Linked DNA regions of Homo sapiens: region 1 is linked to region 2. The links are contacts of gene promoters, found by promoter capture Hi-C in human tissues and cell types (Jung and others, 2019). All regions are on one chromosome and are shown on one strand. Each heading gives the region's core, a stretch centred on a gene start or on the middle of the fragment in contact. The rest is flanking DNA. Distances are from core to core; before and after follow the strand shown.

Region 1 (4,727 bases), core at 1,755-4,254, 110 kb after region 2:
TCCTAGAATAGAGCAAACAACAAAATCTGTCTCTTTTGTCTTTTTACTTGTGTGGGTCTTCAACTTCATACTAGCAGTGTGACTGACTTTAAGCCACTTGGCATTTGCCACAAATGGGAGATTATTGGCCTTAAACACTGGTGAAAAATGAGGGGTGTGTTATGCACGTAAGTATTACCTAAACATTACATGTTAGAACGGATATCCTGGAAGAGAAAACAAAACCCACACCAAAGCGGATTAATAGGAAGCTTTAAGCTCTAACAGCCTTCCACTAAGAATCCATTAAAGAAAAATAATAAAGCCAAAATTAGGCTTTATATAAATTAGGCTGGCGCTCTCTCTCTCTCTCTCTCACACACACACGCACACACGCACACGCACGCAACCCTAATTTAATCAACCAAATGTACCACATGCACATCTTTTTAGTCTCACATTTGCTCAACACAGATGGACAGAAAAAAATAGATGTATGTTTTTGGGTACAGAACCTTCTCAGAGGAACTTTTATTAACACGGAATTATCAGGGCCATTCATTCTATTTGGGGAGTTAGAAAAGGATCCAATTATTTGTAACAAAGAAAAGTTAAAAGTGTTCTACTGGGGCCGGGCGCGGTGGCTCACGCCTGTAATCCCAGCACTTTGGGAGGCCGAGGCGGGCGGATCACGAGGTCAGGAGATCGAGACCATCCCGGCTAAAACGGTGAAACCCCGTCTCTACTAAAAATACAAAAAAATTAGCCGGGCGTAGTGGCGGGCGCCTGTAGTCCCAGCTACTTGGGAGGCTGAGGCAGGAGAATGGCGTGAACCCGGGAGGCGGAGCTTGCAGTGAGCCGAGATCCCGCCACTGCACTCCAGTCTGGGCGACAGAGCGAGACTCCGTCAAAAAAAAAAAAAAAAAAGTGTTCTACTGGAAAACTTATCCAGAAACTCACATTAGTTCCTGGCATAATAAAGTTAAATGGGAATCCACTCATTTAAAGAAAAATTAAAGCAAGAAATCAAGAAAATTACTATTTGGCAAAGGAATCCAAAAGCTCACATCCTGGTTTAGTCCTCCAAGCTTCGCTCACAAACATAACACATTTATAGATATAGATCTATAAATCTATAGAGCTTAAAAGCCTGAGTGTGGTACTCATGCCTGTAATCCCAACATTTTGGGAGGCCAAGATAGGAGGATTGCTTGAGCCCGGAGTTCAAGACCAGCCTGGGCAATATAGCAAGACCCCTTCTCAAAAAAAAAAAAAAAAAACCAAACAAAAAATAAAACACTTTTTTTTTTCCAGTAGCCTGGTGTGGTGACATATGCCCATGGTCCCAGCTACTTGGAAGGCTAAGGTGGAAGGATTACTTGAGCCCAGGAAGTCAACTAAAAAAATAAAATAAAATAAAAAAGCTTAAAAACAATTTTCAACTCTCCTGGACTTGGGTTCATGCTTTAAAAAGATGCATAGGTTTCCCTTAAAAAATTGTTATTTCAGATTATTTTTCTTTATCTACTAATCCACAAACTCAGTTATTCTCATTCCAACTTAAGTCACTGCCACCCATGCCCATTCCTCCAAATACTGAGGCAAAAAAGAAAAGATTAGAAGACTGGGCAGTCTGGTCACAGCTTGGCTTATAAATGACCAGATAGCTTGGATCAAGTCCCTTTACCATGCAGGGACTTCATTTCTATATATGTAAAACAAACAGGTTCTATTTCTTTTTTTTTTTCTTTCTTTTTTGGGGGGGCGTCTCCCTCTGTTGCCCAGGCTGGAGTGCAGTGGCGTGATCTTGGCTCACTGCAAGCTCCACCTCCTGGGTTCACGCCATTCTCCTGCCTCAGCCTCCCGAGTAGCTGGGACTTACAGGCACCCGCCACCACGCCGGGCTAAATTTTTGTGTTTTTTTAGTAGAGACAGGGTTTCACCGTGTTAGCCAGGATGGTCTTGATCTCCTGACCTGGTGATCCGCCCGCCTCAGCCTCCCAAAGTGCTGGGTTTACAGGCATGAGCCACCGCGCCCAGCCTGATTCTATTTCTTAAACCAGGTATTGTCAAACTTTTTCTGTTAAGGGTCAGAGAGTAAATATTTTCACTTTGTGAGCCACGTGGTCTCTGCTGCAACTACAGATACCCTCAACTTATGACAGGGCTATATACTGAGAAACCCATTGTAACTTGCAAATATTGTATGTCAAAAATGCATGTATTACACCTAAACTACTGAATACTATAGCTTCGCCTCACCTACCTTAGACGTGCCCAGAACACTTCCGTTAGCCTACAGTTGGGCAAAATCATCTATCATAAAGCCTATTTTGTAGTGAAGTGTTATACATCTCTTGTAATTTATTGAATACTGAACTAAAGTACAGTTTCTAGTGAATGAGTATCACTTTTACACCAAGTCAGATCGTTAAGTCCAACCATTTTAAGTTGGAGACAGCTTGTACTCAGCTCTACAATCTCCGTGCAAAACCAGCCATAGACAATATGTAAACAAAAGGGCATGGCTGTGTTCCAATAAAGAAAGCTTCATTTACAAAAACAGCTGTGAGTTGAATTTGGCCCATAGGCCACAGTTTGCCAACCCCTGAGTTAGAGGATTTAGAAGTTTCCTCCTAGGATGATTATGAAGCAAAATCACTAGCCTCTGCAACCCACTTTTATGAAAGATCAAGTTATCAAGGTCTGAGGGTGGAAACAGATGTTCACCACAGCACTCAGTTCTAGGAGAGTCTCTGCCTAGGGACACAGGCACTGGACTCTTCATAGTTCCATCAACAGCCACCTTCTGTTTTGCTTGGTACCTCACTCATGCTCTGCTGACCACTGCCTTGGGCTTGGATGAAGCATCACTCTGCATGGTGGAATCTGGCTTTCTGAGAGCTTGGTAGGAGTCAGATGGTACAAACCAAATGTGTAGGGAAATAGCTGTGCAAGGGGAGGGGCTTGGCCAGTGTGAAATAGGAGACAAGACAGAGGTGAGTAGATAAAACATCTCTGCTTTCCTGCAGACTACTCCAGGCTACGGCTCCTCCTTGCAGCCCTTCCAGAAGTGAACATATCCACTAAGTGACCGGCTGGGACTCTGCATTTCACTGTCAAACACCAGCCAGCATCACTTGGCATTGTTCTTTGGCTTTCCTTCCCTTGCATACCTACCCTCACCACTTTGTACTGATACCTCCTAAATAAGGTGTTAACACTCAATCCTTGCATCAGGCTCTGCTTTATAGTGGGGGAGAAAGGGTTAAGATACCATCTCAAGGCCGGGTGCGGTGGCTCATGCCTGTAATCCCAGCACTTTGGGAGGCCGAGGCGGGTGGATCACCTGAGGTCGGAAGTTCGAGACCAGCCTGACCAACATGGAGAAACCCCGTCTCTACTAAAAATACAAAATTAGCCAGGCGTGGTGGCACATGCCTGTGGTCCCAGCTACTAGGGAGGCTGAGGCAGGAGAATCGCTTGAACCTGGGAGGTGGAGGTTGTGTGGGCCGAGATTGCACCATTGCACTCCAGCTTGGGCAACAAGAGTGAAACTCCATCTCAAAAAAAAAAAAAACAAAAGATACCATCTCAAATGGTACTCTTTGTTTAAAAAAAAAGAATGGCACAGATAAAACTACTGGATTTAGAGTATAAAAAGATTAATAAATAAGAAGTAAAATCTTGACTAATACATTAAACTAAACTAATCTTGGCCATCTATCTATACTGGCTTCAAATATCCCTAATGTCCAAATGGTAAAATGTATCCTAAACATATCTAAAAGGTCAGCATCTCTCCAAAAAGAGGGCCTGAATACCTATGACTATATTAAGTGAAGAAGCATGCATGCCTGGCCTTCCAGTTATATTTTTATTTTATTTATTTATTTGAGACAGTGGCTTGCTCTGTCACCCAGGCTGGAGAGCAATGGTGTGATTTCGGTTCATTGCAACCTCTGCCTCCTGGGCTCAAGTGATCCTTCCACCTCAGCCTCCCAAGTAGCTGGGACTACAGGTGTGCGCCACCACACCCGGCTAATTTTTGTATTTTTAATAGAGACGGGGTTTCACCATGGTCCCCAGGCTGGTCTTGAGCTCCTGGGCTCAAGTGATCTGCCCACCTCGGCTTCCCAAAGTGCTGGATTACAGGTGAGAGCCACCACACCCAGCCGACCTTTCAATCATAAATGGAGCAAAAAATGTTGTGCTATATCTCTTGAAATATAATTATTTGTTGTATAAATAAGAGGTCCCTGTCGTGGTCTGAATGTTTGTGTCCCCTCCAAATTCACGTGTTGAAACCTAATTCCCCATGTGCCAGTATGAAGCGGCGGCACTTTTAGGAGGTGACTAAGTCATGCAGGCTCCACCATCATGGGGTTAGTGCCATTAAAAGAGAAACCCAGGCAGGGCGCGGTGGCTCACGCCTGTAATCCCAGCACCTTGGGAGGCCGAGGCAGGTGAATCACGAGATCAGGAGATCGAGACCATCCTGGCTAACACTGTGAAACCCCGTCTCTACTAAAAAATACAAAAAATTAGCCGGGCGTGGTGGCGGGCACTTATAGTTCCAGCTACTCGGGAGGCCGAGGCAGGAGAATCGCTTGAATCCAGGAGATGGAGGTTGCAGTGAGCCGAGATCGTGCCACTGCACTCCAGCCTGGGTGACAGACCGAGACTCTGTCTCAAAAAAAAAAAAAAAAAAATTAAAAAAAGAGAAACCCAGAGGATCTTGTTTGTCC
Region 2 (4,771 bases), core at 2,036-4,535:
GAGTCTCCCTCCCTCCCTTTCCTTTCTTCTTTCTTCCTTTCTCTCCTCCTTTCCTTCTCCTCCCTCCCTTCCTTCTCTCCTTCCCCTTGCTTCCCCCTCTTTCCTTCCTGACTCCTACCTTCCCTCTCTCCCTCCCTCATTTCCCCCTCCTCCCTTTCCTCCTCCTTTTATTCAATGAGTATCAATTTGTAGGCTTCTGCTGGGCCCTGCATTGTTTATGCCACTCTGAAGACTTAGTCCCTGTCCCAGGCCACCCAGAGACCCCACAGCCAATCCGAGGGAGCTTTCTCTGCAGGCTGTGCCAAGATAACAATGAGAGAGACACATGCCTGCCAGAATGGGAGGCCCGAGCTGAGCATTGAGGATAAGCCCATGGACCACAAGCTGCATGCTCTGCTGTTTTATTTATGATTTCTCCTAATAACTGTGGAAGATTTTTGTGCATTTGTCATCATGCAAATGAAAGCATGATTGCCAATGCACACAAAGTTATTAACATCTAAACAATAGTCTCTACTAACAGGAATGGAATTAGAAGAATAAGGTAAGTGGCAGGGGCAGGGGGACTGAAAAAGAATAAATTAAAAAAAAATCAAATGAAGGAAATTAGAACTGGTATAATAGGAAAGAAATGGAAACAACCTAATGTCCAAAAACATAGGAATGTTCAATAATTTCCACATTTCCATAAGCCAGAATTCCAAGCAGCTATTAAAAGAGTTTTGGAAGAGGTTGGGTGCGGAAGCTCACGCCTGTAATCCCAGCACTTTGGGAGGCCGAGGCGGGCAGATCACCTGAGGTCAGGAGTTCGAGACCAGCCTGGCCAACATGGTGAAACCCCGTCTCTACTAAAATACAAAAATTAGCTGGGCAGGTGCCTGTAATCCCAGCTACTCGTGAGGCTGAGGCAGGAGAATTGCTCAAACCCAGGAGGGGGAGGTTGCAGTGAGCTGAGATCACGCCACTGCACTCCAGCCTGGGCGACAAGAGCAAAACTCTGTCTGAAGAAAAAAAAAAAGTGTTTTGGAAGAATATGTAATGATATGGAAAGCACTCATGATAAAAGAGTAACTGAAAAATGTATGATAAAAAATCGTATGTGAATATGTCATAGCTTTAACATTATTTAAAATTATATAGGTAAAAGACTGAAAAGGTATATACTGATATACTAAGAAAAGTTTTCCCTGGATGTTGGAATTAGAGGCAATTGTTAGTCTCTTTTGCCTAGGTTTCTAAATTTCATGAGTTACTTTTATATCAGATAAACCATTTTCAAGACACCTACGAGGTTAGTGGAAAAGTAATTATGGTTTTTGCCATTACTTTCACAACAAAGGATCTGACAGGAGGACAGTATGGACAGGGGAGAAGGCGTGTTGGGAACCATATGGAAGCCTGTGCGCCTCACAGGGAAACTGTCAGGAGCCGGGGAGCCACGCCGCGCGTGGGAAGCGGGGGCTCATGCGTGGTGCCATGATCCGCCCCGCGCTGGGGAGAACATGAGGACTAGAACTCAGAGTTCATGCCCCCAACTTTGACCTCTTTCTACTTTATATTAGAAGCATATTGTGTGTTTAGAATGAACAGTGATTCAACTTGAATGTGTACTGCTGAAAATTTCAAAGGACATTTTAATAAAGGAAGGAAGAAACAAAGGATGGAGAGAAAGAAAAAATGTAAATATAGTCACGTGTCGCTCAGAGACAGGAATACATTCCGAGAAACACATCTTAAGGCAACTTCTATGTGGGAACATCATAGAGCATCCTTGCACGAACACAGATGGTAGAGCCGACTACATCCCTGAGCTCCATGGTCCAGCCTTTTGCTCCTAGGCTACAAACCTGTGCAGCACGTGACTGTCCTGAATGTTGCAGGCAGTTGTCACACGATGGTAAGTATTTGTGCATCTAAACATAGCTAAACATAGAAATCATGCAGTAAAAATACAGTATAAAGATAAAAAATGGGCCGGGCACAGTGGCTCATGCCTGTAAATCCCAGCACTTTGGGAGGCTGAGGCTGGCGGATCGCTGGAGGTCGGGAGTTTGAGACCAGCCTGACCAACATGGTGAAACCCCGTCTCTACTAAAAATACAAAAATTAGCTAGGCATAGTGGTGCACACCTGTAATCCCAGCTACTCGGGAGGCTGAGACAGGAGAATTGCTTGAACTCGGGAGGCAGAGGTTGCAGTGAGCCAAGATCGCACTATTGCACTCCAGCTCTGGGCTACAGAGTGAGACTCCATCTCAAAAAAATAAAAAATAAAAAACCAAGATACAAAATGGTAGACCTGTCTAGGGCACTCACCATGAGTGGAGCTTGCAGGACTGGGAGTTGCTCTGGGTGAGTCAGTGAGTGAGTAGTGAGTGAATGTGAAGAACTAGGACATTACCGTACACAACTACAGACTTTACGGATACACTTAGGCTACACTAAATGCATTTGAAAAATAAAGTAACTGTGCTATGACGTCACTAGGCAGTAGGAATTTTTCAGCTCCATTACAATCTTATGGGACCACAGTGGTCTATATCGTCCGTTGTTGACCCAAACATCGTGAAGCCAAGCATAACATGGCTGTATTAGGAAACACTCAGATTCTGCTCCGGGAAGACAACGAAGCTGTGGGCAAGTGCCCACCCCTCTATCAATATCAGCATCTCGGAGCACCACGCTCTCAGAGCCAGTGGCCCGCATCCCCCGCTCCACCCACAGATCCACTCCCTCTGCAGCAGCTGCAGCAGGGGACCCCCAGCCCGGAGCGACCCCGGCACCGCCCAGCCAGAAGGGGAGAGGGGAGACTGACCATGACGATCTCCAGCACTTCATTCTTGCTGATGGTCCCGTTACCGTCCACGTCGTAGAGGGAGAAGGCCCACTCCAGCTTCTGGTTGGTCTTGCCCGCGGTGGTCATGTGCAGGGCGATGACGTACTCCTTGAAGTCCAGGGTGCCGTCGAGGTTGGAATCGAAGCTGCGGAACACATGCTGGGCGTAGGCCTTGGGGTCGGTGTCGGGGAAGAACTTGGCGTAGATGCTCTGGAACTGCTGCTGGGTGATGCGGCCGGTGGGACAGTCCTTCAGGAAGGACTGGTACCAGGAGCACAGCTCCTCCTCCGAGAACTTGGTGTTCAGCTGCAGCTCCTCCAGGATCTCCTTGGACAGGGCCCCACTTTTGCTGTTCCCCATGAGTGAGGAAGAGTGGGCAGCGGCTGGGGAGTCGCTGGGTGGGTGGGACGTGCGTGGTCCCCTGGCCGCAGGCTGGGCTCAAGGCTGGTGTGAGCTGAAGACCGAGATGCTGGTGGCTTAGGAGGATTTGCGACCAGTTCTTCGCAATCCTTGAAGGGAGGAGGGGCCCAGGAGCTTTGTGGAGGGCGGGAGCGGTGGGGGGGGGTGCTCCCAGAACCCTAGTGAGATTAAAATAAAGAGCCCAGGGCAGGCAGGCAATTCATCTCGGCCTCCCGGGACGATACTAGAACAGGACAGGAGGTTGGAACCCTCAGAGCTGGGGCCTCCGGCACCCCCAGCCCCAGCCCTCTAACAGCAGCCATGTTCCCTGTTTCTCTTCCTCACTAACTCTGAGCATCTCGGGGCGGGGCTGGCATCTCATATCAAGCCCTAGAATGCAATGGTTAGGAGCACAGACTCTGGGGCCAGCATGGGTTCAAGTCCCAGCTTGGCTACTTAACTAGCTGTGTGGCCCCAGGCTTGTTTCTTCACCTCTTTCCACCTGGGACACTCTTCTAAACCTTCACTGCAGTCATGTCTCTGCTTAAATGTCACCTGCTCAGCCAGGCCTATACTGACCCTCTATCTATAATAGCACAACCCCCACCATCATCGGCACGCTGCATGTCCCCTCACCGGAATGAAAGCTCCGTGAAGGATGGGATTTTGTCTGTGTTGTTCCCGGATGCATTTCCATTGCCAGAACCTGATAGGCTTGGGCCCCCAGCAAGTCTTTCTTGAATAAATGGGCATCATAGCATCTACCACACTGTCATTGTGAGGCTGATGTGAGTCAATATGTCTGACACACTTAGAAACTGGCACATGGCTAATGCTAAACACTCGTTTTGTTATTGTCCATCAGTCACAGGGAGTGAAGGTGAACTGCCTGAAGGGACCAGCAGGGGGCAGCCAGGCCTGTGTCACCTCGGGAAGGGGCTGCCAGAGAACGTGGTCACATGGGATGGTGAGATTTTTGGGTTTTTTTAAATTATTCAAGAGAAATCCAAAAATCAGAATTTTTCTTGCAATTTCCACACTTTTCAACTTTGGCAATTAATTCAAAATTTTAATGGTGGCTCACGTCTGTAATCCCAGCACTTTGGGAGACTGAGTGGGGAGATTACAAGGTTAGGAGTTCGAGACCAGCCTGGCCAACATGGTGAAACCCTGTCTCTACTAAAAATACAAAAAATTAGCCGGGCATGGTGGCAGGTGACTGTAATCCCAGCTACTTGGGAGGCTGAGGCTGGAGAATCGCTTGAACCCGGGAGGCAGAGGTTGCAGTGAGCCGAGATTGCACCATTGCACTCCAGCCTGGGTGACAAGTGTGAGACTCCATCTCAAAAAAACAAAACAAAAACAAAAACAAAAACAAAACAAAACATGGTGTGGGCCAAACACAATCTATCTGTGGGTCCATGGCAGGCTGCAGGGTGTCCGTCTGCAGTGGACTTGGAGTGAGCAGGCAAGAAAACGTGTTTGCTGAGTGAATGGATAAATAACTGAGTGGTCAGAGACGGAGCTGTGCAAAGGC

The links. Contacts are between HindIII fragments. The study calls those that stand out against the background at their distance.
Region 1: a fragment that was not itself captured here is called in contact with the fragment with the promoter of RCVRN in region 2 in 3 of the 25 tissues and cell types used here (bladder, dorsolateral prefrontal cortex and thymus).

What each region holds. Positions count from the first base shown.
Region 1 is chr17:10,008,431-10,013,157 of GRCh38, forward strand. The region is part of intron 2 of GAS7 (growth arrest specific 7); the gene reads right to left. Among named protein-coding and RNA genes, the nearest start is that of RCVRN, 110 kb to the left of the region's middle. The HindIII fragment of the contact is 7,446 bases long and covers 1-4,727 here.
Region 2 is chr17:9,901,986-9,906,756 of GRCh38, forward strand. It overlaps RCVRN (recoverin), which reads right to left and starts at 3,286. Exons shown (of 3, transcript NM_002903.3): 1 at 2,815-3,286. The coding sequence starts at 3,195. The HindIII fragment of the contact is 14,018 bases long and covers 1-4,771 here.